Regions from separate parts of the Homo sapiens genome. Here regions 1, 2, 3 and 4 are each linked to region 5. The links are contacts of gene promoters, found by promoter capture Hi-C in human tissues and cell types (Jung and others, 2019). All regions are on one chromosome and are shown on one strand. Each heading gives the region's core, a stretch centred on a gene start or on the middle of the fragment in contact. The rest is flanking DNA. Distances are from core to core; before and after follow the strand shown. Region 1 has its middle 21 kb from the start of PALS2. Region 2 overlaps GSDME (gasdermin E). Region 3 overlaps OSBPL3 (oxysterol binding protein like 3). Region 4 overlaps GSDME (gasdermin E). Region 5 holds the start of TRA2A (transformer 2 alpha homolog).

What was found. The method cuts DNA at HindIII sites, captures the fragments that hold promoters and counts their contacts. A contact is called where the count stands out against the background at its distance.
Region 1: a contact is called between a fragment that was not itself captured here and the fragment with the promoter of TRA2A in region 5, in 1 of the 25 tissues and cell types used here (thymus).
Region 2: a fragment that was not itself captured here is called in contact with the fragment with the promoter of TRA2A in region 5 in 1 of the 25 tissues and cell types used here (mesenchymal stem cells).
Region 3: a fragment that was not itself captured here is called in contact with the fragment with the promoter of TRA2A in region 5 in 1 of the 25 tissues and cell types used here (lymphoblastoid cells).
Region 4: a contact is called between a fragment that was not itself captured here and the fragment with the promoter of TRA2A in region 5, in 1 of the 25 tissues and cell types used here (lymphoblastoid cells).

Annotation. Positions count from the first base shown.
Region 1 is chr7:24,549,616-24,554,525 of GRCh38, forward strand. No RefSeq gene overlaps it. Among named protein-coding and RNA genes, the nearest start is that of PALS2, 21 kb to the right of the region's middle. The HindIII fragment of the contact is 7,513 bases long and covers 1-4,910 here.
Region 2 is chr7:24,719,409-24,724,883 of GRCh38, forward strand. All of the region lies in intron 3 of GSDME (gasdermin E), which reads right to left. Among named protein-coding and RNA genes, the nearest start is that of GSDME, 35 kb to the right of the region's middle. RefSeq lists enhancers at 1,153-1,252, 4,976-5,475. The HindIII fragment of the contact is 4,296 bases long and covers 1,405-5,475 here.
Region 3 is chr7:24,949,758-24,954,796 of GRCh38, forward strand. The region is part of intron 1 of OSBPL3 (oxysterol binding protein like 3); the gene reads right to left. Among named protein-coding and RNA genes, the nearest start is that of OSBPL3, 28 kb to the right of the region's middle. RefSeq lists an enhancer at 849-1,348. The HindIII fragment of the contact is 3,603 bases long and covers 1,550-5,039 here.
Region 4 is chr7:24,736,179-24,741,473 of GRCh38, forward strand. The region is part of intron 3 of GSDME (gasdermin E); the gene reads right to left. Among named protein-coding and RNA genes, the nearest start is that of GSDME, 19 kb to the right of the region's middle. The HindIII fragment of the contact is 7,050 bases long and covers 1-5,295 here.
Region 5 is chr7:23,528,507-23,534,000 of GRCh38, forward strand. TRA2A (transformer 2 alpha homolog) reads right to left here and starts at 3,475. Exons shown (of 8, transcript NM_013293.5): 1 at 3,283-3,475. The coding sequence starts at 3,318. RefSeq lists enhancers at 2,533-3,103, 3,104-3,673, 3,215-3,264, 3,285-3,334, 3,345-3,564 and 3 more. The HindIII fragment of the contact is 6,699 bases long and covers 324-5,494 here.

The sequences.
Region 1 (4,910 bases), core at 2,027-4,526, 1.0 Mb after region 5:
CACCACACACATCCAATTTTAGAGACGCATAAACCAAGACCCAGGGAGGTTAAATAATTTGCCCAAGATCCTTCAGTTAGTAGTGAGAACTAGACATGCGACACAAAGGAGAGGAAATAATTCATTTATTTGCTCACTCCCTAGTGAATCAGCTGACTTATTTATATACACTAGGACCTCCCCTTAAAAGCCTGTACATTCTATGTATCCAATAAATGTGAGTGAAATTAATTATCTGGCATGTTATTTATTTACTCATTTATTCACTCATTCATTCATTCATTCAAATCATCTGTATCTAAATACCTTGCCTTTGCCAGGTATCAATTATATCATCATTTGGATCTTTTTCTCCTTCCAAATAAAATATACTAAACCAAATACATATGTTCATTTCTTGAGAAAGAATTAAAATTCCTATTTGAAATCATATCATTAGCCTGTCTAGTACTATACTCTGCCTCCAACACAATTCTCTAGCTGGGATCTTGTGGGAAAGTTGAATCTCCCCATCCCAAAGCCCACGTAGCCCATTATGCAATGCTTTGCATCACCACGGGGTCCTCAACTGACTGACTACCTCAAGCTGTCAGTTAATGCTCTGCTTCATGATATTTGACTACCCTTCTTAATGGTAGTTTACATAACGGCAAATGTTCCCTGGTAACTGCAAAAGAATTCAGCTATTTTAAAATAGCTCTGTCAACCCCATGAACAACTCGCTGAATTCCATGGTAAGCATATAATAGAATGCTTCTGTTTACCTTTATGTTATTTATAGCATGTGTCCTTTATTACTTTTTTAAAAAAATCTACCTTAACTTTTTAACCTGTTAGTTTTCAGCCCAGTCTAGTTTTGACCTTTCAAAAATCAGATTAGCCTATCTTAGCACATTATCATACATATTCTTGCTTAATTGAACAGTTTTTATTTCAAACATTACTAAATTTTTTTTGTCATTGTAGTATTCCATTCTACATCCTTGTGTGCTTACTATAAGCAAAAAGGTATTATATTTCATCCTGGGTCATATGCATTATATAGAATAGCTTGCTGTATCAAACATAATTTAACACATTCTGAAAAGAATTCTAGATTGGTCAAGATGACAATCCCTACACTTTTATTTTCAATTAACCAGGAGTTCTCAAACTTAAGTGTATATGAGGATCACCTGAAGGATTTGTTAAACCACAGATTGGCAGGTGGAAGCAATCCAGTATCCACTGATGGATGAATGGATAAACAAAATGTGGTGTATATAGACAATGGAATATTCATCAGCCTTAAAAATGAAGGAAATTTGGCCGGGTGCGGTGGCTCACGCCTGTAATCCCAGCACTTTGGGAGGCCAAGACGGGCGGATCACCTGAGGTCGGGAGTTTGAGACCAGCCTGACTAACAGGGAGAAACCCCGTCTCTACTAAAAACACAAAATTATCTGGGTGTGGTGGTGCATGCCTGTAATCCCAGCTACTCTGGAGGCTGAGGCGAGAGAATTGCCTGAACCCAGGAGGCAGAGGTGGCGGTGAGCTGAGATTGTGCCATTGCACTCCAGCCTGGGCAACAAGAGCGAAACTCCATCTCAAAAAAAAAAAAAAAAAAGAAGGAAATTCAACACATGCTAAATGGATAAACCTTGAGTACATTATATTAAGTGAAATAAACCAGCCACAAAAAGACAAATGTTATATGATTCCACTTACATGAGGTACCTTGAGCAGTCAAATTCATGGAAACATACAATAGAATGGTGGCTGCCAGGCACTGGGGGATGTAGAGAATGGGAAATTGCTGTTTAATAGGTACAGAGTTTCAGTTTTGCAAGACAAGAAGAATTCTAGAGATTGGTTGTGCAGCAATGTGAATGTACCTAACACTACTGAACTGTACACCTAGAAACAGTTAAGATTCTCACCATTAAAAAAAAAAGAAAATTAAAAGTGGCTGGGTGCAGTGGCTCATGGCTGTAATCCCAGCACTTTGGGAGGTCAAGGCAGGTGGATCGCTTGGGTCCAGGAGTTTGAGAGCAGCCCGGGCAACATGGTAAAACCCCATCTCTACAAAAAAGTACAAAAATTAGCCAGGTGTGGTGGTGCATGCCTGTAGTCCCAGCTACTGGAGAGGCTGAGGTGCAAGAATCGCTTGAGCCTGGGAGGCAGAGATTGCAGTGAGCTGAGATGGCGCCACTGCACTCCAGCTTGGGTGACAGAGTGAGACCTCATCTCAAACTTAAAAAAAAAAAAAAAGTATGTGAGGTGAATGTGAGGTGATACCTATGTTAATTAGCTTGATTTAGCCATTCCACAATGCATATACTATTTCAAAACAACATGTTGTACATGATAAATATAATTTTACTTGCCAATTAAAAATAAATTTTAAAGTGATTAAGATGGAAAATGTTATGTTCTGAGTATTTTACCACAATTACACCCACATACGCAGATTGCCAGAGTTATTGATATAGTAGGTCTGCGGTAGGGCCTGAGAATTTGCATTCTGGGCCCATAGTCTGAGAACCACTGTGATACGGTTTGGCTGATAAAATCTTGAATTGCAGCTCCCATAATTCTCATGTGTTGTGAGAGGGACCCGGTGGGAGATAATTGAATCATGGGGGCGATTTCCCCATACTGTTCTCATGGTAGTGAATAAGTCTCATGAGATCTCATGTTTTTATAAGGGGTTTCCCCTTTTGCTTGGCTCTCATTCTGTCTTGCCTGCTGCCGTGTAAGACATGCCTTTTGCCCTCCACCGTGATTGTGAGGCCTCCCCAGCCATGTGAAACTGTGAGTCCATTAAGCCTTTTTGTATTTATAAATTTTTCAGTCTCGGGTGTGTCTTTATTAGCAGTGCAAGAACAGACTAATACACGCTGCAGTGAACAAAGTTAGTGATGACTCCAGAATTTCTGTCTAAAAGGAGTTTATGAGTAACAACCTGGTTGGAAGAAGGATGAGGGGATTTGCCTTGCCAGTTAGCATAGCAAGCACAGTGTCTTCAGATTGTATGTTTGTTTGCAGAAGCTTTCATGGGAGACCTGAAGAAATGATGACCAGCTGCACACACCCACAAGTCACTTCTTGATGACACAGCTGTACCTTGCTACTTGCTCAAGGCATCTCATAAATCTTAAGTATAGTGGGGAAAATATGAGAACTTGACATTTTTGCACTTAAGAGATATATTCTCCTTTCTTTTATTTCACAGTTTTTCTTTTAAATTGGAAGAAGAGTAAGTAGGCATTGGGAAAAGAAGATAGGAAAATCTGAAACATAAATAAAATGAAGAGCTAAGTATCGAATACCTACTATAAACAGAACAGATATTTATTGTTTTGTGAAAATCAAGCATGAAGCAATGTGATAACCCCTATCAAATTAAAATTCCTAATGCTCCCCTGGGAGTGGTAGAAGAGCAGTCTCATCAATGCTGCTGAGAGTATATATTACTACAAGCACCCTGGAAGGATTTGGCCATATATGTGAAATATCCATATCCTCTCACTTAGTAATTCCATTTATAGAGATCTATCTTAAAGAAATAAAGTGTAGAATATAAGAATATTTAGATGATATAATGTATACTAGCAAAACATGGAAACACCCTAAATGTTAAGGTGGGCACCAGAGAGAGGCTAGATTAATTTCAGTGTATCCAGACAACAGAATTCGCAGCTATAAAAGACATCTGTTGTTTTAGAGTAGCCCACAACCTTTTGGCAGGGAAAGTGGACCTCAGCTTCCTTTATTCTGCTTGTTTCAGTCGAGAGAACTCCCTATCACCTTCTCTGACACAGAGGAGGTGTTCACAGCTCAGTGAAAGTCAGAGTCCTTTTGTAGGGACAGATGTGGATGCTTGACAAGAGAAGACCTCTTGCCTTGTGAGACTGCAAGCAGGAAGGGCAATGAAAACCTGGCTAACACTGAGGAAAGCAGAGGCCATAGATGGGGAGAAAGAAAGTTTCCTATCAATATTGTTTGAGTCCCTGGATCTCATTATACCTGACTAGCAAGTCTGCCTTTGACTTCCCAGTTATATGAATCAATGAATGCCTCACTTTTTTCCCTCTTAAACTCACAACTAAAACATTCTTAGCTAATACATTGTTATTAAAAACCACATTTTATATGAATGCATATGAATACACATTACATTACTAACTCAATTTTTATATATACACATCTTAAAATGTGTACATATAAAATTTAAGGAACATTAAAATGCTTTATGAGGTTGTAGTTTTATAGATAATCAAATATTTTTACTTTTAAGGATTATTCACTTAGGCCAGGAATGGTGGCTCATGCCTGTAATCCCAGCACTCTGGGAGGCTGAGGCAGGCGGATCACGAGGTCAGGAGTTCGAGAACAGCCTGACCAACATGGTGAAACCCTGTCTCTACTAAAAATACAAAAATTAGCCAAGAGTGATGGTGCACACCTGTAATCCCAGCTACTCAGGAGGCTGAGGCAGAAGAATCGCTTGAACTCAGGAGGCAGAGGTTGCAGTGAGCCAAGATCACACCACTGCACTCCAGTCTGGGCAACAGAGCGAGACTCTGTCTCAAAAAAAAAAAAAAAAGATTATTCACTTAAAAGGTTTGCCAACGTCTTAATTCCCTGGCTATTGAGCATTCTAAGAGAAGAGGGTTATTGCATAAAATATAACCACATATCTTACTGGTCACTTGTAAAAAATAAAAAATGGTACAATGCCTATGGAGGGAAATCTGGCAACACCTAACAAAATTACATATGCATTTGTCTTTGACCCAGCAATGCCAGTTCTAAGGATCTCTCCCACAGATACAGTAGCAAAAATATGAAAAGATGTGTGCATAAGCCTATTAATTGCAGCACATTTATAATAGAAAATGTTTGGAAACAGCCTAAATTTTCATTGA
Region 2 (5,475 bases), core at 2,303-4,802, 1.2 Mb after region 5:
AGCTGCCGGGCCTCTGGGGGCCAGGCTAGATGCCAGAGGGAAGGGGGCTTTCAGTCAAACAGCAGCGCCGGTTGTCAAGGAGAAGAAAAGAAAATCAACCAGGGCCAGGCGTGGTGGCTCACACCTGTAATCCCAGCACTTTGGGAGGCTGAGGCAGGCAGATCACTTGAGGTCAAGAGTTCGAGACCAGCCTGGCCAACATGGTGAAACCCTGTCTCCACCAAAAATACAAAAATTAGCCAGGCGTGGTGGCACACACCTGTAATCCTAGCTACTAAGGAGGCTGAGGCACGAGAATCGCTTGAACCTGGGAGGCGGAATTTGCAATGAGCTGAGATCATGCCATTGCGCTCCAGCCAGGGCAACAGAGCAAGACTCCATCTCAAAAAAAAAAAGGAAAAGAAAAGAAAACTAACCAGGAAGGAAACTGCAATCCATGTACCTTAGACCCTGGAAACTCCACTTTTTTATTTAATCAGAGCTGAAGGATGTCAGACGTCACAGCCATGGCCCAGGGAATACAGGATTATGATGGGAGGAATGGTGACCAATTGCTTCTCATTGAGAAAGGAATAGGCCTAAAGTATGAGTAGCAAGAAGGAAATTAGATTTGAACTAAGAGGAAACTTCTTAACCTGTCTAGGAAAGATGTTTCATCTCTTAGAAGGGGTTTGATGTCTTTTTACACATGGGGAAACTGAGGCTGGTTATGCATGGCCTATCCAGAGTCACTCAGCAGAGATTTGGGGCTCCCACCCAGCCACTTGAAATTCTGCAAACTTTCAAGAACAGACTAAATTTTTATTTACAGGAGATGATTTCATGCTTAGAAGCAAATGATGAAATAACTTCTCTGGAGATCTCATTCAATACTATGATTCTATGAAATGGACAGGAAAAGAACCAAACTAGAGTTGGTGACAGCACAAGAAAAATTATGGTATCCATGCTGGTCTTTTTTTAAGAGGTTAGTTACCTTGAAAAGCTCAGCACCCATCCCTGACCACACACATGCTGGGTCACCCATCCTAGACAGACTCAGGTTCTCTGGGCTTCAGAAAGTAGCCCTGGAACTGGAGTGAGTAGCTAGGAAAGTCCCATCTCAATGTAATCACCTGCCCAGAATAGAAACAACTCACGTGTCCATCAACAGATGAATGGAGAAACAAAATGTGTTATAGTCATATAATGAGATATCATACAGCCATAAAAAGAAATGAAGTTGGGCCGGGCACAGTGGCTTATGCCTGTAATCCCAGCACTTTGGGAGGCCGAGGCAGGTGGATCACCTGAGGTCGGGAGTTCGAGACCAGCCTGACCAACATGGAGAAACCCCGTCTCTACTGAAAATGCAAAATTAGCCAGGCACATGCCTGTAATCCCAGCTACTCAGCAGGCTGAGGCAGGAGAATTGCTTGAACCCGGGAGGCGGAGGTTGCGGTGAGCTGAGATTGTGCCACCGCACTCCAGCCTGGGCAACAAGAGCGAAACTCCGTCTCAAAAAAAAAAAAAAAGAAGTGAAGTTCTGACATCTGCTGCAACATGGGTGAACCTTGAAGACATTATGCCAAGTAACACACTCCAGGGACAAATGAGCAATATTGTGTGGTTCCTCATATGAAATATCTGGAACAGGCAAATTCATAATGACAGAAAGCAGATTGGAGGTTACCGGGGCTGCAGGGCTTCGCTGCCTGATGGCTGCAGAGTTCCTAGTTGAGGTGACGAAGAAGTTCTAGAAATGCAGAGTAGAGATGACGGCACAACAGGGTGAATGTATTTAATGCCACTGAATTTTACACTTAAAAATGGTTACAACAGTAAATGTTGTGTCTCATCTATTTTACCACAATAACAAATAGATAAGACATAGGAAAAACGGGTTCAATCTTAGTACTGGTTAAGGAAATTCAAATTATAAAAATGTCTCACACGTGATAAAAATACATTGATGACAACCACAAAGCTGCCGAGAGACTCCATTTCCAGGAAGGAACAGGAAACAGGGACCCTGGAGCCTGCAGGGCTGGGGTTCGGATCTCAGCTCTGCCCTCCCACTGGGCAAGCTCGAGTGAAGGGCCACCTCTGCACCTAGGTTTTCTCGTGCATGAACTGTTGGTAACAGGGCCCCCTCCTCATGGGGTTCCGTCAGGGTTTAGATGACATGCATGCAGTGAGCCATTAGGGTGTGCCGAGCACAGAGTTAAATGCCACACAAACACTAGCTGGCTCCGCCCACCTTCCCGTGTCCCTCTATGAGGCTCACAAAACAAAGCCACAGTGTGTGCCCTGCATGGGAATTATGGGGCACTGAATTGAATCAGAGGTACGTTTCCACATCACTCCCTTCTTAAAAGCCTTCAATGGCTATATCCCATGTCCAGTGCGTTCCCAGGCTGAGGCCCCATGTGATCTGCCCTGCCCCCTGTTGACTTTATCTTCCAGCCTTCTTACTACTCCTTAAAAATGCCAGGTGTGTGCCTACCCCGAGGCGTTGGCACACATTCCCTGATGGCCACATTTCACTGACTCATTGGTCACCTCCTCGGGGAAGCATTCCCTGCACCCCCATCATGCTATCACACCCTAAGATCACTTCTCTGGAGAGCACATTTCCACAGGATATTTTTCTAGCTCATTCATTTATCTGCTCATGGCCTGCCTCCTCCATCAAGAATATAAACCCCACAGAGGTGGTGAGTGTGCTCTCCTGTTGACTGCATATCTCAGGGCCAGGATCAATGCCTAGTACGTAGGAAGAGCTCAGGAAATATTTTTGGAATAAATGAGTAAATAAAACTTGTGAGGTTTTTTCCTCTATTGGTTGAATGAATGTGTACATATGTATTTGTGCATCCACGTGTGAAAGACAGAAGACACGGAAGATGGGGGAAATGGAGGATCTGCAGCTTGGATCAAAAAATGGTGCATAGCAGATGCGATCTTCCTAAGGGATTGCATGTCTTGGTCCCATAGGCAAAGACTTTAAAGATAAAAGCCATTGTAACCACCGGTCAGAACATACATTCAACTGTTCCCTTTCCAATGGTCTCTTCCTTCTATTGCTCAAAATTCTAGCAGATTCTTGAACGTCTGTCTGTGCCCTCACAACTAAGGCATGGGCTCCTCCCAGCTAGACGCACGTCAGACACATCACCGCCTGGTGACGACCCCACAACTGCCGCCTTTAGGAGTCTGATGTGACTCTGCTGGATTGGAAATCACAGCCCTCCTACCCGCCCTAAACAGAATCCACTGAACACTGGACACTGCTCCTAGCCAGTGTGAAATTGTTTGAAAAGAAAAAGCTCAGCCTAGACTACTCAAGACTCCACTGCTTAAAATGCCCACCTCCCTCCAGAACCCCCACCTCAAACACCAAAAGAGAGGGGCAGCCATCTACGCAGGTGGGCAGGCAACTGCCTGCTGTATCCGATGACAGGGCAGTCCTGAGACGCTTGCTGAGTCGCTGCCTTCAAAAGGTCTCTGTGGGGCGGACCCACCACAGCGCAGGAACAGAAGCTCGCCCAGGGACGGAGACTGTCTCCAAGGCTAGGATTCGGGTGACCAGAAACGTGTCACACAGCCACAGCTCATGCAGGCCACTGGGAATCCTTCCCTGGGCAACCAAGGCAGGGCTGCCGGAAACTGCAGGCATCATCCACCTAGCAGCAAACACTTCCACCCAAGTCACTGGGATTCTGTTTCCCAGGACAGTGCTGCCACCTTTTGGAAACCAAATGCTGGAAATATTTAATCATCTTCAGTTAGGAGAGGCCCCACAGGGACAGCGGGGAAGCTACACATCAGGGAAAATGGATTTTTCGTTTGACTCTCTGAAAAGCAATCTCGGGAGGGAATTCTTCCCCATCTCCTCCCTCAGTCAATTCCACCAAGCCCCAAGCAGCCCCAGGGGGAGAGCTGGTGTCCCCTGGGGACGGTGTTCTCAGGTGCAGACCCAGAACAGTTCAAGGTCACCAGACCCTGGCTCTGGCCCTCCTCAGAACAGAAATCACCATGCAACAGGGCTCCCCTGTGCCCGCCTAGTGCAGAAACCAGCCAAATTTCAATGCAATTTGTTTACTGTATAACCTTATATATTTTATTATAAGCATTTAAAGAGGCCCATGGGTTTCTTCAACTGCTAATAGAGTTCATGAAACAAAACATTTAAAACTCTCAGTTGAGGGTTTCAGAAGAGTTTAAAAAAAAAGAGCCTAGAGAGGTTGATGGTAGTAACCAAAGTCACACAGCTGTGAAGCCCAGGTCTTTTACAATGGCCCACATGGCCATAGCACCCATAGCTGCTGTCTCCCTCTTCTGGGTGAGGGCACCCTTGGGCTGTACTAGGAATTGAATCTTCATCTCTATTAACTCTTGTATTGCTATGTTCATTTCTATATGTAAATATCTTGCCTATGTAACCAGACCAGTAGATGGAGGCTGGAAAAGCAAGTTATACCCAAGTCCTCTGGGAATCCTTATCAGAATATCCATGCCTGCCTGTTCTCCCCAAGCCCATCTCACTCTCCTCGTGGCTGCCGCCCTGTGCCATTTGACAGTTCTTCCCCAACTTGTCCTGATTTCTTTCCTCTCGGGCCCTGTGAGAGCCACTGAGCAACACAGACAGAATGGCTTTAGAGACACAGAAAACTATTAGTAGTGGTCGCCTCTTGGGTGGGGAACCAGATGGCGGGGAGGGGCTTTTCACCTTTTCTCTTTTGACCTTTTGACATTTAAACCATGTGAATAGATTGCCCAGTTCCAAAAAAAAAAAAAAGTATTTTAAAAAAAGGCCTTCTGGACAGACTGTAAGCTCCTGGAGGACAAAGTACTTGCTCTTTTTATTGGTGCCTAGCCCTGTGCTATCCACCCAGCTGGGGGATAAAATGAATGGTTTATCACATAAACCCGGGCAGGACTGGAATGAGACCCTCTCCCCAAGTCCAGCCAGGAGCCAATGCCCAAAGACAGGGAAAATGGAGCAGAAGCTCTTCCAGGAGAAAATGAACAAGCAGAGGTTCTTCATCCGCTTCACACATCTAAGGGCAGGCTCCTTGTTCTTCCTGGCGGGGGCGGCAACGTGAAAGCAAGAACAGGAGGCCACTGAGGCAGAGGCGTATATCCTCAACAGAAAGGGCCAGCCCCAAAGGAGCAAGTCTGGAGGCAGGGGAAGGGGGTGCATACTCAGTCGAGAAGAACTCCCTCTCCTCACTCAGGGGCTTGGCTCAACTCCGCCCACCCAGTTCTACTGTGAGGTTGCCCTTCTGCGCGTACCTGGCAGGTCGATATAACACAAAGACCTGGAGTCATCCCGGAATCGGTTCCCTGCTCCAATGTGGTTTAATGTTTGTCCCTTCTAAGTTTCATGTTGAAATGTGATCCCCAGTGCTAGAGGTGGGCCCTGGTGGGAGGTGTCTGGGTCACGGGGGTGGATCCCTCATGAAAGGCTTGGTGCCCGCCTTGCAGTAATGA
Region 3 (5,039 bases), core at 2,101-4,600, 1.4 Mb after region 5:
GGGGTACAGGGATGGCTGTGTAAATGCTCTAACTATAACACACTCTGTTATTATTGACTTTCTCCTTCCCTGCCTCTCTCCCCGCTCCCTCAGCGCTGCTTCCTAAGATCACCTCCCAAATAAATTATTTGCACCCAACTCCTTGCTTCAGGCTCTGCTTTCATGGGCCCCAAACTAAGCCCAGGCCTTATGGACTATTTCAACAGTCTCCAATTTATCAATACTTCATGCTTCAAAAATATGTTTATAAGTCAACAGCTTGGAATTTGCAATCCATTGTTTTCCCCACAGAAATGCTATTATAAATGATTAGATTCATAAGCCAGGTCATAAAAAGTATTCATAACAGCATGGAGTGCCAGCACAAAAGCTCCTAAGAAAACATGTCATTTTGCCACACTGCCTTTCTTTACCAGAATAAACATTAGTAATGCAATTAAGGCTCCAGGAACAAATATCCATCCACGTTGACATGTGCATACAAAAATACACACAAACACACACACACACATATTGGTGAAAGCAGATCTCTAGAGAATCGAAATGCCTGTATCAATATTCATTTAAGTCCTTATAACTAGGGCTTACAACTTGAAATCCAAGAAATATAGAAAGAGTTAAACTCATCAAAGGTCTCAAAAGGGAAAAACAGAAACTATTTAGTTCAATACACAAAACATGTAGGCCGGGCGCGGTGGCTCACGCCTGTAATCCCAGCACTTTGGGAGGCCGAGGCGGGCGGATCACGAGGTCAGGAGATCGAAACCATCCTGGCTAACATGGTGAAACCCCGTCTCTACTAAAAATACAAAAAATTAGCCAGGCGCGGTGGCGGGTGCCTGTAGTCCCAGCTACTTGGGCGGCTGAGGCAGGAGAATGGCACGAACCCAAGAGGCGAAGCTTGCAGTGAGCGGAGATCGTGCCACTGCACTCCAGCCTGGGCAACAGAGTGAGACTCCGTCTCAAAAAACAAAACAAAACAAAACAAAAACATGTAAAATTTCTTAGCCAAAGATGTTAAGGGTGAAATGAAAGAAAGAGGGTCATTCAGAACAAATTAGTGCAGAATTAAAGTGGTTATGTAATTTGGAACTCAAGTCACCACAGAGGACTGTTTAAAGTCAATGCTCAACAGTTAGAAGTCTGTTACAAAATCAGAGGAGACTGAACTTGAGTTGAAAAAAAAAATTAAGCTTCATATTTTATATAAAGCTAAGCCTTAAATCTGAATGAATGGATTAAAGTTGCATTTATATGATATTGTGTCAAAGCCCCATTAAATGATCATTTAATATTCAAAACAACGATCTCCCTCCCCACCACCAGCCCCAACAAAAAGAAAGAATCTCCCAAATCAAATTATTGATTGTAGCATCAAGAGGATGGAAAGTAGGAGAAAAGAAACGAAGAAATTTGAGATTATGGAATCAGACTGAAAGAAATCAATCAAAATCTTATCTAAAAATATTTGCTAGTGGCCTAATGTAAGTGGATCCTTAAGTGGGGTTTTTTCAAATTTCTTAAAAATAAAAATGCCTTTAAGTAAAAGCAACTCCTTGCTCAAGTAAAAAGTAAATCAAAATCACTTTTTCAATTATGCAGAATTTATATGTAACTTCATATTCCTTCTGGTAAAAAGAAAGGGGAAAAATGAAAAAGGTGAACCGAAAAATAAATCACTGAATGTTATTAAATATATACATCAAATCCATGACTACAGATGTGGGCACAAAAAATAAAAACACTTTTAGATCCAGGAAAGAAATCTGGTTTACAAAAGCCAGAAGACTATTAGTATTTATGACTTAAACTTAATTATTGTGCATATACACAAATCCCTTCCCCCTACCCACACACACAGGATTTTCTTCCCCCAAGTTCCCCAATTTAATGGTAAAGACGTAAGCTTTGAGCTTAAAACAAGAAATATTCTTTCATTTTGTTCTTCCATGTAAGGGCTGACAAACACACCACGGGGGAGAAACCTGTATTAATGATCCTCATAGCTTGCAAGAAAAACTATTAATTTCAGTCTAAACAAACACAAACAGGGACAAAACATTCTAGACATAAACCTGCTGCAGAAGCTCTCCAAAATCACAACACCCACGGTACATCTTTCAGCTCAAATGAATAAACACTTCCAGTGAGACCTCAAATGTTTTCTTTTTTTTAAAACATAAAAAGGAATCATTTTATTCCAACATGAATGAGACTGTAGAGAGCTCTAGTACTGTTGACAGCAACACTTCTTGGGGATATTATTAACTGGATTATAACATCTAATAACTAAAAGGAAGAACACGAATGAATGTAGAGGGGCCTCCCCACCGGCCATTCTTTCAAGCTTCAAAAAAGGAGCTCAGACTTTGAGTAAAGTCTTAGTCTTGGAATGCAATAGGCAGGAGGCACTTGAACTACCCAGACACTGAAATGATGCACAAAATTCTGCTCAATAGGCTGATATTTCATGTGGGTTAGGATCTGTAATCTAAACAGAATTAAGAAAAAAAATTAAGAAGCTAAGCACAACATAAATAGTCCAACTTTTTATTTTAAGGACAGAGAAACTGAGGCCCACAAGGCTCAAGTTTTGCCCAATGTCATGTAATCACTAATCATATACCGGTTATCTAGGTCTCCTGACATTCAATACAATGCCCTGTAGCAAACCGAAACCTCAGAAACCTCAGAAGGTATGGTCTAATCTAACATGTCTAAAATATTATTTGTAATACCCTTAAAGAATATCCTGAAATTGGATGAAATTTTAGATGTTGCTCTATAAATATGGAAAGATGCTCATATGAGCCACCTTTGGAGACTAGGTACTCAAATTTATCATGTATCTCAATACGGTTCATGCCAGGCATATGTATATTCACATGCAAAATCCTGCAACATTCTTAACTGTGCATTACATCAACTCTATAGAGATTATGGTAAGGTTATTTCCAGGATTCTAGGCCTGCCCTACCAATATGCAAACCATCAGCTGAATCTATAAACAAGAGTACCATCAAGGTTCCCAGATTTAAAATATTTCCCTACCCAATTCCCTATCAACCCCGCTTCCCCTCCCCAATCTCATTTAAAATAACTCTGGGATGGCCAATGCCTGTAATCTCAGCACTTTAGGGGGCAGAGGTGGTAGGATCCCTGGAGCCCAGGAGTTCAAGACCAGCCTGGGCAACACAGCAAGACACTGTCTCTACAAAAAAATCTAAAAATTAGCCAGGCATGGTGGTGCATGCTTGTAGTCCCACCTACTTGAGAGACTAGGATAGGAGGGTCACTTGAGCCTAGGATTTCAAGGTTGCAGTGAGCCATGATCACACCACTGTGCTCCAGCCTGGACGACAGAGTGAGACCCCGTCTCTAAAAGGTAAATAAATACATACTCTGGGCTTTTGCTAATAATACTATCTTAAAAGATTAAAGCCTTCACTTAAGTAGTTTTGCTTCATCACTTTAATTATTCTGGCAACCCATCTATAGTTCAATTCTCAATATGCCATCATTTGTCAGCTCTGCCAAGGAGTAAGCCCCATCTTTCCTAACCAAGCAACTCTTCCCTGGGGTTTCTTTCAAAAAAAATTATACCAGCAGGTTCTAATTTCCTATCCCTGCCAGAAAGGCTGCTCAGAAGTTGAGTTTAAATGTGTCTTATTAAAGTATTGTGTTAAAAAAAAAAGTATTACGTATCTGCTGAATTGTAATCAGACTTGAATAATCATCTTAAATAAAAGTTTATTAATTGAACATTCATTATTACTCTCAGTATGAAAACTAAATAGATCATCAGAAAAAGAATTAGGCACATTAGGAAGCAGTCAGATTGTATCAGTGATCAAACAGTTCAGACAGGGAAGGAAGCTTACTCTAAACAGAAGCTGCAGATTTGTATCCACTACCTATTTCAGATCCTGGTACAGTAGGTGCCCAGTAAACGCTGAACAAATGAATGAAAATAGAACTCCAAGTCACTTAGATCAAGGCACAACTGGAGCTCCATTTAATAAATGGTCAATGCCTGACTCTCCATTAAATGTTCAACGGCATGAACTAGAAGCAGGCAGCATGTATCCCAGGAATAGCTTTTGCTACAAAATGTGAGACAAAACAGCTCATGAAGAAAATAATCCTTATGGTAATCATCACAATGATGATCAACAGTCTGGAACACTTTCTCAATCACCAGATGAACCTTAGAACAAACTGAGAGAAAGGGGTCTGGGTACACTGGAAGTGGCAGCTCCAAACAGGCCCTGTGAAGCTCTTCATCCAAGACCTTCCTTCCTCTTTCATGATATTCCACTCTTCTACTTTCTCCCAAAACTATCTTTTTCATGCAGGCAAACAAAGTAGCAATAATGTCCAAACACAGAATCACTCAAGCCAAAGTACTCTCCTGAGCACCAGGAATCATCTGGCTGTGCTGAAAAGTCTGTCCAAACACTTTGGATTAATTTTTTTTCTTTTTGCATATTAAGGTATTTTTAGACGTGAAGTTATTTATTCTCTGCACCAAGAGAGGCTTACTTTTTAATCCTTTCTCCATAAGGATGTCAAAATCTTTCAGTCCCAAGGTAAGGTATCAGACCAAAATAGCTTTAAAAGTTCTATATAATTAAGAATGTTGTTATAGCTACTCTTATGCCAAGAATCATCTACACTGCTTCAATTCATATAATCATATCCACGAGAGACCCAGTTAACCTTGGCATTTCTGCTGCAAACAAAGTGTTTAGACAAACAGCACTCTCTCTATCCCAACCATGTTACTCAGTGCTGCCTGGTCAATTCTCACACAAATCAGAAAAAAAAAAGGTGTGGGGACAGAGGGGGCCAAGATGTAAAAAGGCAAGTCTGCAATCCTCCTGACCCCATCTCCTACAAATAAACTTAGGTTCTTCCAACAGTACGTTGAAAAGAATTAAAGATGTGGACCCTAAACAAACAAAAAGTCGTTTTGCATTGACCCTCTCTTTAATTTCAAACCTGGAAATTTTTAGCAGGAATATGATGACAAAACCACA
Region 4 (5,295 bases), core at 2,241-4,740, 1.2 Mb after region 5:
AATAATTGAATGTAACTAAACTCTCCAATTAAAAGACATACACTGGCTAAATGGATTAAAAACAACAAAAAAAGACCAAATGATCTGTTGCCTACAAGAAACACCCTTCACCTATAAAGACACATATAGACTGAAAATAAAGGGATGGAAAAAGCCCATGCAAATCACAGGCAAAAAAACAGCAGGAGTAACTATATTTATGTCAGACAAAATCGATTTCAAGACAAAAACTATAAGAAGAGACAAAGAAGGTTACTATATAATGATAAAGGGGTCAATTCAGCAAGAGGATATAACAATTGTAAATATTTATGTACCCAACACTGGAGCACCCAGATATATAAAGAAAATATTATTAAAGCTAAAGAGATAGGCCCCCAGTGCAGTAATACCTGGAGACATCAACACCTAGCTTTCAGCATTTGACAGATCATCCAGACAGAAAATCAACATCAGACTTAATCTGCACTACAGACCAAACAGACCCAATAGATATATACAGAACATTTCATCCAACAACTGAAGAATACACATTCTTTTCCTCAGCACATGGATCATTCGCAAGGATAGACCATATGTTAGGCCACAAAACAAGTTTCAAAACATCCAAAAAATTGAAATAATATAAAGTACCTTCTCTGACCACAGTGGAATAAAAAAACTATATAGCAATAACAAGGGGAATTTGTGAAACTATGCAAATACATGGAAATTAAACAACATGCTCCTGAATGACCAGTGAGTCAATGACGACACTAAGAAAAATTGAAATTTTATTGAAACAAATGATAACAGAAACACAACAGCAAAACCTATGGGGTACATCAAAAGCAGTACTAAGAGGAAGTTTATAGCTGTACATAAATCAAAAAAGTAGAAAAATTTCAAATAAACAATCTAACAATGCATCTTAAAGAACTAGAAAATCAAGATCAAACCAAATCCAAAGCTAGTGGAAGAAAAGAAATAATAAAGATTAGAACAGATATAAATTAAAATGAGGAAAACAATACAAAAGATTAATGAAACAAAAGTTTGTTTTTTTAAAAAGATAAATGAAGTTGACAAACCTTTAGCCAGACTAAGAAAAAAAGAGAAGACCCAAATAAATAAAATCAGAAATGAGAAAAGAGACATTACATTAATACTACAGAAATTCAAAGGATCATTAGAGGCTACTATGAGTAACTATACACCAATAAATTGGAAAACCTAGAAGAAATGAATAAATTCCTAGACACAAAACCTACCAAGATTGAACCGTGAAGAAATGGGATCAAAGCCAAAATAACAAAAAAAACAAGTAATGGGATCAAAGCCAAAATAAAGTCTCCCAGAAAAGAAAAGCCAACAAAAACCTGATGGCTTCACTGTTGAATGTTACCAAACATTTAAAAAAGAATGAATACCAATCCTACTCAAACTATTCCAAAAAACAGAGAAGGAGGGAATACTTTCAAACTCATTTTACAAGGCCAGTATTACCCTGATACCAAAACCAGACAAAGACACATCAAAAAAAAAAAGAAAACTACAAGCAGTGATGCAAAAATCCTCAACAAAATACTAACAAAATGAATTCCACAATACATTAAAAAGATAATTTATCATGACCAAGTGAGATGTATCCCAGGGATGGAAGGATGGTTCAACATATGCAAATCAATCAGTGTGACACATTATATCAACAAAATGAAGAACAAAAACCATTTGATTATTTCAACTGATGCTGAAAAAGCATCTGATAAAATTCAACATCCCTTCAAGATAAAAAACTGCACATAGAAGGAACATAGTTCCACAATAAAAGCCATATATGATAGACCAACCAGCTAGTATCATACTGAAATGGAGAAAAACTGAAAGCCTTTCCTCTAGGATCTGGAACACAACAAGGATGCCCACTTTCACCACTGTTATTCACCATAGTACTCGAAGTCCTAGCTAGGGCAATCAGACAAGAGAAAGAATAAAGGCATTCAAATTGGAAAGGAAGAAGTCAAATGATCCTTGTTTGCAGAAAACATGATCTTATATTTGGAAAAACTTAAAGACTCCACCAAAAAACTATTAAAGCCAATAAACAAATTCACTAAAGTTGTAGGATATAAAATCAACATACAAAAATCAGTAGCATGTCTATAGGGCAACAGAGAACAATCTGAAAAAGAAATCAAGGAAATAATCCCATTTACAATAGCTACAAATAAAATTAAATATCTACAAACTAACCAAAGAAGTGAAAAATTTCTACAATGAAAACTATAAAACACTGATGAAAGAAATTGAAGAGGACACAAAAAACATGGAAAGATGTTCCATATTCACAGATCAGAAGAATAAATATTGTTAAAATGTCCATACTACTCAAAGTAATCTATACTTTGTAGAGATTCAATGCAATCCCTACAAAATACCAATGATGTTCTTCACAGCAATAGAAAAAAAACTACCCTAAAATTTATGTGGAACCACAAAAGATGCAGAATAGCCAAAGCTACCTTGAGCAAAAGGAACAAGGCTGGATGAATCACATTACCTGACTTTCAAATTATACTGCAGAGCTATAGTCATTAAAACAGTATGGTAATGGCATATAAACAAAAATACAGACCAATGGAATGGGATGGAGAATCCGGAAACAAATCCATACATTTATGTTGAACTCATTTTCAATAAAGGTGCCAAGAGCATACATTGGGGAAAGGATAGCCTCTTCAATAAATGGTGCTGAGAAAACTGTATATCCCTATGCAGAAGAATGAAACTAGACCCTATCTCTCACCATATACAAAAACCAAATCAAAATGGATTAAACACTTAAATCTAAGACCTCAAACTATGAAACTACTATAAGAAAACACGAGGGAAACTCTCTAGGACATTGAACTGGGCAAAGGTTTCTTGAGTAACATCCCACAGACACGAACCACTAAAGCAAAAATGGACAAATGGAATCATATCAAGTTAAAGACTTCTGCACAGCAATGAAACAACAAAATGAAGAGACAACTCACAGAATGGGATAAAATATTTTTACACTACCCATGTGACAAGAGATTAATAACCAGAATATAAAAGGGGCTCAAACAACTGTAGGGAAAAAAATCTAATAATCCTGTTAAAAATGGGCAAAAGATCTAAATAGACATTTCTCAAAAGACGACATACAAATGTCAGACAGGCATATGAAAATGTGCTCAACATCATTGATCATCAGGGAAATGCAAATCAAAACTACAATGAGTTATCACCTCACCCTGGTTAAAATGGCTTTTATCCAAAAGACAGGCAATAAAAACTGCTGATAAGAATGTGGAAAAAAAGGGAATGCCTGTACACTGTTGGTGGGAATGTAATGCAAATTACTACACTATGAAGAACAGTTTGGAGATTCCTCAAAAAACTAAAAATAGAGCTACCATACTATCCAGCATTCCAACTGCTGGATATGTACCCAAAAGAAAGGAAATCAGTATACTGAGGAGCTATCTGCACTCCTACATTTATTGCAGCACTAGTCACAATAGTCAAAATTTGGAAACAACCTAATCCTCAATAGATGAATAAAGAAAATGTGGTAAATATACACGATAGAGTACTATTTAGTCATTAAAAAAAGAGTAAGATCCTGGGCTGGGCGCAGTGGCTCACGCCCATAATCCTAGCACTTTGGGAGGCTAAGGCAGGCGGATCACGAGGTCAGGAGTTCAAGACCAGCCTGGCCAATATGGTGAAACCCCATCTCTACTAAAAATACAAAAATTAGCCAGGTTTGGTGATGGGTGCCTGTAATCCCAGCTACTCGGGAAGCTGAGGCTGGAGAACTGCTTGACCCTGGGAGGCGGAGGTTGCAGTGAGCCAAGATTATACCACTGCACTCCAGCCTGGGTGACAGAGCAAGACTCCATCTCAAAAAAAAAAAAAGGATAAGATCCTGTCATTTGCAACAACAGGGATGGAACTGGAGGTCATTATGTTAAACAAAATAAACTAGGCACAGAAAGATAAACTTCACATGTTCTTATTTATTTCTTGAACTAAAAATTAAAACAATTGACCTCATGGAGATAGAAAGTAGAGGGATGGTTACCAGAGGCTGGGAAGGGTAGTGGGAGAGTGGTAGGGGGATGCGAGGATAGTTAATGGGTCCAATAAAAATAGAAAGAATGAATAAGATCTAGTATTTTATAACATAACTTTAGGATACCTAAAGAATGAATAAAATCTAGTATGTGATAGCATAACTTTAGGACACCTAAAGCCAATAATAATTGTACATTTTTAAAATAACTAAAACTGTATAATTGGATTGCTTGTAACACAAGGGATAAATGCCTGAGGTGATGGATACCTCATTTTACATGATGTGATTATTATACATTGTATGCCTGTATCAAAACATCTCATGAGATGTATTTTCCCATTAAAAATTCCTCATTAAAAAATGTCATATATCCCATAAATGTATGTATATATATTTACGTAAATATATGTATATATATATTCAGTGTAATTCTGAAACATTTTAATTATGAAGATTTATCATGGTCATGACATTGCTTTAATATACTGGTTTCATATAATTTATTTAATTTGGAATTCCTAATAAAGAACCAAACTTCTCATTACTGTATGTGCATAGAAAAATGTAATCTGCTTTACCAAAATTCCCTTTACAATATGATGAAGAATAAAAGTGGGATATGCCTTTATGGTAACACCCTCCTCAATCCCCAAATAGCCAGGAAAGCACAACGCAGCATGGTCTCTGGAAAACAGCCGGGACCGCGGCCCAGAACTCAGGGGAGGGAGCTGACAGGTGTGCGCGCTCCAGAGTCCACTCACTTCCAGACATTCAGCCAGGAGAAAGCCTTCAGAGATCATCTAGTCCAACTATCTCACCTACAGCTGGGGAAACTGAACCCAAGGGCAGAAACGGCTTACCAAGTCGACCTAAGTTATTGACCAGGAATAAACTTACCAGACCCTAGGAAATTAGAAGCAACAAGCTAGTGGCAGAGGTGGGGTGGGCTGTGGCTTTTATACTTATGGTAGTGACAAATGGCAGCTGACCACGGAAGACAAGGCAGACAAATGAAAAGCGTATTACAGAATAATAATGAAAGCTTATTAAACACAAAAATGAAAGAGCTTATCCGAGTCACTATGAAAAAGACTCAATAAATTTGTTATTCTCCATTTAAAAAAAAAAAAGTATGTGACATATCTTAGAATAGTTTCCATCAAGAATGCTAAGATCTGCACAGAGACTGCATTCAAAGGGGTCAGCTC
Region 5 (5,494 bases), core at 2,225-4,724:
GTTTTGTTTTTAAACAAGCCAGTCACAGGCCTGGGTTTTGATAGTCATCATCCCTATCATTCTCAGATTTCAGAAAAGGACCCTCCCCCTATTTCTTCTATTTTTAACAAAAAATCTATACACACAAATCTTTTAATTCCAAATTGATACAGATAAATTTGTTTGCCTTTTTTTTTTTCGAGACAGAGTCTTGCTCTGTCGCCCAGGCTGGAGTGCAGTGATGCGATCTCGGCTCACTGCAACCTCTGCCTCCCGGGTTTAAGCAATTCTCCCACCTCAGCCTCCTAAGTAGCTAGGATTACAGGCATGTGCCACCCCGCAGGGCCTGTAGGAGTCTCTCAAAAATACTCCAGCTACTCAAGAAGCCAGAAGAAATCCTGAAAAGGAGGCAATAAGAAGCGGTATTTTTCCTCTTCAACTGTAGAAAACATAAATAACTCTGGAATTACAAGATAGGTCCCTAACAATAAAGAATCATTAACCTCCATGATCAACACTGGGATGCTGTATGAAAATTGCACATTTTTATAAAGTACAGTTCTTAAAATTTTAGGGGTAGAGGTGTAAAATGTTAAGAAAAGATTTCCATTCCCCTTAATTTCTATGAAGGGCATTAACATTTTTTGAGCTCAAAATCCGAATTTTAGTTGAAGCTGTATTGAGGCAAACAACTCATTACTTTTATCAAGACATGCAAAGCCACCGCTTAAGTGCTACCTTCACTCCCAGCTCCAAAGGACATCTCCACTTAAAATTGCTTTTATGGACCTACGTATTTACTTATTTTTGAGACAAGAGTCTCATTCTGTTGCCTAGACTGGAGTGTCGTGGCGCAATTCCGCCTCCCAGGTTCAAGTAATTCTCCTGCCTCAGCCTCCTAAGTAGCTGTGATCACAGGCGCACGCCACCACGCCCGGCTAATTTTGTATTTTTAGTAGAGACAGGGTTTCACCACGTTGGGCAGGCTAGTCTCGAACTCCTAACCTCAAGTAATCCACCCGCCTCAGCCTCCCAAAAATTGTTGGATTACAGGCGTGAGCCACTGCGCCCGGCCAGAAACGATTTTAAAAAGGGCATCTCCAGACAAGCTTCTCGCATTGTTCTAATTCTTTAACCAATTACAAATAAAGACAATTATCTCATCCTATAAAAACTAAAAGACGAAAAATAAAAAGATACAACAGGTGAGCCTACAAGCACTAGTTGATTTACACTAAAATACACTTGGGTACCACTTGTGAAAAAAATATTTCCTATGACCACAAAGGGCCGTAAGAGGGCCCTTTATTTCTATTAAATAAATCTTTAATGCCTACATATACTTTAGCTTAAAAGTGGGTGGGAATCTTTTTTTTTTTTTTTGAGACGGGAGTCTCACTGTCACCCAGGCTGGTAGGTGGGAATCTTAACATGTTACTTTCTTAGGAGGGAAAAGTGACAATTGTCGGCAACTTACTCCTTTCCTAGACTTGATGATAAATTAAAAAAAGAAAAAAAGCAAGCAAACAAGGTCCCTCCAGTAGTCCTCTTCACTCCCCACAAACCAAACCAAACATCAATCCCCCAATTTTTTAACAATGAAAGTTAATTGAAGGAATGTATGAATGGACAGCAAAATTTCTATCGATAATTACTCAACATTTTCAAAACAAGAAGCATTTTACAACTACTATCATATATGTTTATCGCATGATTTTAGAAAGTTCTGTTGGGGCCATCAATACACCATCCTAAAAAATAAGCAGGTTCAATTTTCATTTGTTTCCATGCTCCAAACTTTGTAAAAAAAAATTCCAATCAAAAGAATTAAAGGCAAATTTTTTAGTCTACCGGGTAACTATTATAGTCTATTGCTTTAAATCTTTCCTCAAAGAGAACTAAAGCCTAAACTGACCTTCTGATTTGACTTTTTGGTTCTAGATGTTTATATCATGAACTCCCCAAAAGGACAAAATTCGCCCTTCAGCACACACACCTCAGGTGTTTTTATGTGCTTCCCCTAGTGACTAGAATAAACATCTACACAACAGCCCGGAACGTGTTGCATGGGGCTTTTGTTTTCTTTCCAGGGTTTCACACGAACTCACTTCTACTAACTCACTTCTACAATTCCCTATGTAGGGTAAACTTTGGAAATGAAACTCACTGACAAACGTTCCAGTACATTTAAGCTGGGGATATCGTATTCTTTGTGATGTTTGTATTTCTCCGACCCCAAATATATTAATAAAAACTTTTTTCTGAGCCCTCTTCGGTGGGGGATAGAGTGAGAAGAGAAATGGGAGAGGGCCTGTTAATTTTCAGGTCATCTTTTAAGTTACAGAACAGTATATACTGACTAGTTATCTTAAAAATACTGAGCCAATGAATTCGTTCAGCTATGTAAGATTAAAGAAAGACAGATTTTTTTTTTTTTACCGTAAAAACCTGTAAAGGAGTGGTCAGTTTTTAGATGAAAGGTCATAGGAAGAAGAGCATTAAAAGTTGAGATATAAAGAAGAGAAAAAACCCAACATCGAGGAATTAGAAAAATAAGGCGTGACAGCATTTCCACATTCATTTCGAAGTGAAAGGAAAGTCGAAGGGACATTAAGGGAAAAGGGCTCCTTGCGTAGTTTCCCCTCACAGCTCTCGTCTTAAGAACGCTTAAGGGTCGGTGCGGTCGTTGACTAACCACTTCATTAGGCTCGTCCCACCTTCAACCTCAAGGCTTTCGCCTTTTTAGACGCAACGCCGCCGGTTCCAACAGAGACGCGGCCGCTCACTGAAATAGAGAGCCAAGGAGACACAGGCCCCAGCTAGTCCCACGCCAGCTTCTCCCCGCCCGGAAAGCAGCCCCGCGCACTTTCGATCCCGAGACCCTCTACGATGCTCGGGGTCGCCAGAAATGCCACCGCAGGAAGCACCTACCACTATCCGGACGGAGGGGAGCTCCCTGCCGCCTCCTCCCGCCCAACCGCGACGGGGACCCACACCTCGGAGCAGACATAAGGAAGCCTCAGGGGTGGGGAGAAGGGAGGAAGCAATGCGGGGGCGGGGAGGGAAGAGGACCCAGAAGTCCAGGTATCAGTCAGCCTCCAAAAAAGGGGGAGGGGTGTTATCCGTGGTGTTTGGGGAAGGAGTGGAACCCAGAAGCCATCTTGGGATGGGAGGAATCAATCGCGATGGCTCCAGAGGTTGCTCCTCGCGGGACTACCCGCAACCCCGCCCGACCGCGCTTGTTCCCGTGAAACCCCGAGCATTGGGCCGCCGCCTAGACGGCTCCCGCGGCTTTGTACTCACTCTGCCCTCGAAGTTGTTTTCCTCCACATCACTCATGTCGACGAGGCGCTCCCCAGAACTAAATAAGAGACAAGTCTCGGCTCGAGGGCCGATGGCCTAATTAACCCGCTGACTGGACCGTGGGGAAGAGGAAAGAGTCGGCAACCACAGCCGCTCCACTCCACTCCCACTCGGTCGCAGGCTCCAGCAAAATGGCGCCGGCGCCGCCAGAAATCTCCTGGCCTCCTCAGAGCACGACGTAAAGGGGGCGGGCGTCTCTGTGACGTCACGAGGCTCCACCTCCCGCGAGGCTTTGTGTCGGCTGGGCCTGGAGCGAGGGTGGAGGTTGGCGGGCGGCCTGCGCTCTCAACCTGGGCGCCTTGGAATCGCGGTCCCGTGCTGTCCTCCAAACTTCAGACTCACCTCGGACGCGTCAACCTCTTTGAAGACTTTTCAGTCGCCAGATGAGCCTTATATGACCTTAGCCCCTTTAAATATTGTCCAAGTGGATTCTGATGTAAGGGAACAAAACATTGGAAGCGTTTTTTTATGTTTGTTTATTTTTTGAGTCAGGGTCTCGCTCTGTCACCCAAGCTGAAGTGCAGTGAAGCGATCACTGCTCACCACAGCCTCAAACTCCCGGGCTCAGACGATCCTCCCACCTCAGGCTCCCGCGCGCGCCACCACGCCCGGCTAATTTTTTTCTTTTTTGGGACGGAGTCTCACTCTGTTGCCCAGGCTGAAGTGCAGTGGCGCTATCTAGGTTCATTGCAACCTCCACCTCGCAGGTTCAAGCAATTCTCCTGCCTCAGCCTCCCCAGTAGCTGGGATTACAGGCATGCACCACCACGCCCGGCTAATTTTTGTATTTTTAGCAGAGACGGGGGTTTCACCATGTTGGACAGGCTGGTCTCAAACTCCTGACCTCAGGTGATTTGCCCGCCTGGGCCTCTCAAAGTGCTGAGATTGCAAGGGTGAACCACCGTACCCGGCCCACCCGGCTAATTTTTGTGTGTTTTGCAGAGATGGGGTTTTGACATGCTGCCCAGGCTGGTCTCGAATTTGTGGACTCAAGCGATCTGCTCGCCTCGGCCTCCCAAAGTGCTGAGATTACAGGCCTGAGCCACCGCGCCCGGCTGGAATCGTGTATATATAACAGGCTTTTGGGGGGCACGTTGTCAGCTGACTGTATTACTTTTCTTCCATATTTGCCCTGTGTAATGTCGACGTAGTACATGCACAGATGAGGTTATGATGCAAAGCCGCTGCTCCTTGCCTCGTGTCCCTGCTCCAGTTCCCCCTCCTAGAGACAGCCGTGTAGTTTTTTTTTTATAATGCTTAGCTCCCTACTAGTTTTTTTGACTTAGATATTTCCATAAAGCTTCACAGTGAAGACCTCCCAAATCTGTCAACTTGGTTCCCAATCATAGTAATAATCTCTGAGATGAGTTTTACTTGTGTAATGCAACTTTAAAAATTAGTTTCATCTTAAATTTTTTTCCTACAGTGCTTTGTAGTAAAAAGATTGACATAGACTTTCAACTATAGTTCTATGGTAGGAAAGTTCATCTGGCATTATTATGAAGATTGCTACCACTGGGGGCAAGATTTCAGCATTTGAATGTCAGTTATTGATAGGGATAAACTTAAATGACATCTGGCTCTTAGAAAAGATGTTGAACTTGGCTGGGTGTGGTGGCTGACGCCTGTAATCCCAGTACTTTGGAGACCCTAGGCGGAAGATCGCTTGAGGCCAGAAGTTCGAAACCAGCCTGGTCAACATGGTGAGCCCCCATCTCTACAAAAGAAATTATTATTATTATTATTGAGACGGAGACTTGCTCTGTCACCCAGGCTGGAGTGCAGTGGCGCGATCTCGGCTCACTGCAACCTCCACCTCCGGGTTCAAGTGATTCTCCTGGCTCAGCTTCCCGAGTAGCTGGGATTACAGTGCGTGCCACCACACCCGGCTAATTTTTGTATTTTTCGTAGAGATGGGGTTTCACCATGTTGGCCAGCGTGGGCTGGAACTTGTGACTTCAGATGATCTGCCCGCCTCAGCCTCCCAAAGTGCTGGGATTACAGACGTGAGCTGCCACGCCCAGCCAGGTTGATACCATTTGAACCACTGATCAATCTTAGTACCATTAAAAGTGAGATAACCAGATACGAGATACCTCATGATGTGATGCAATAGAAAATACCCAGTTCCTCCTGTGAAGTATTCCTGATC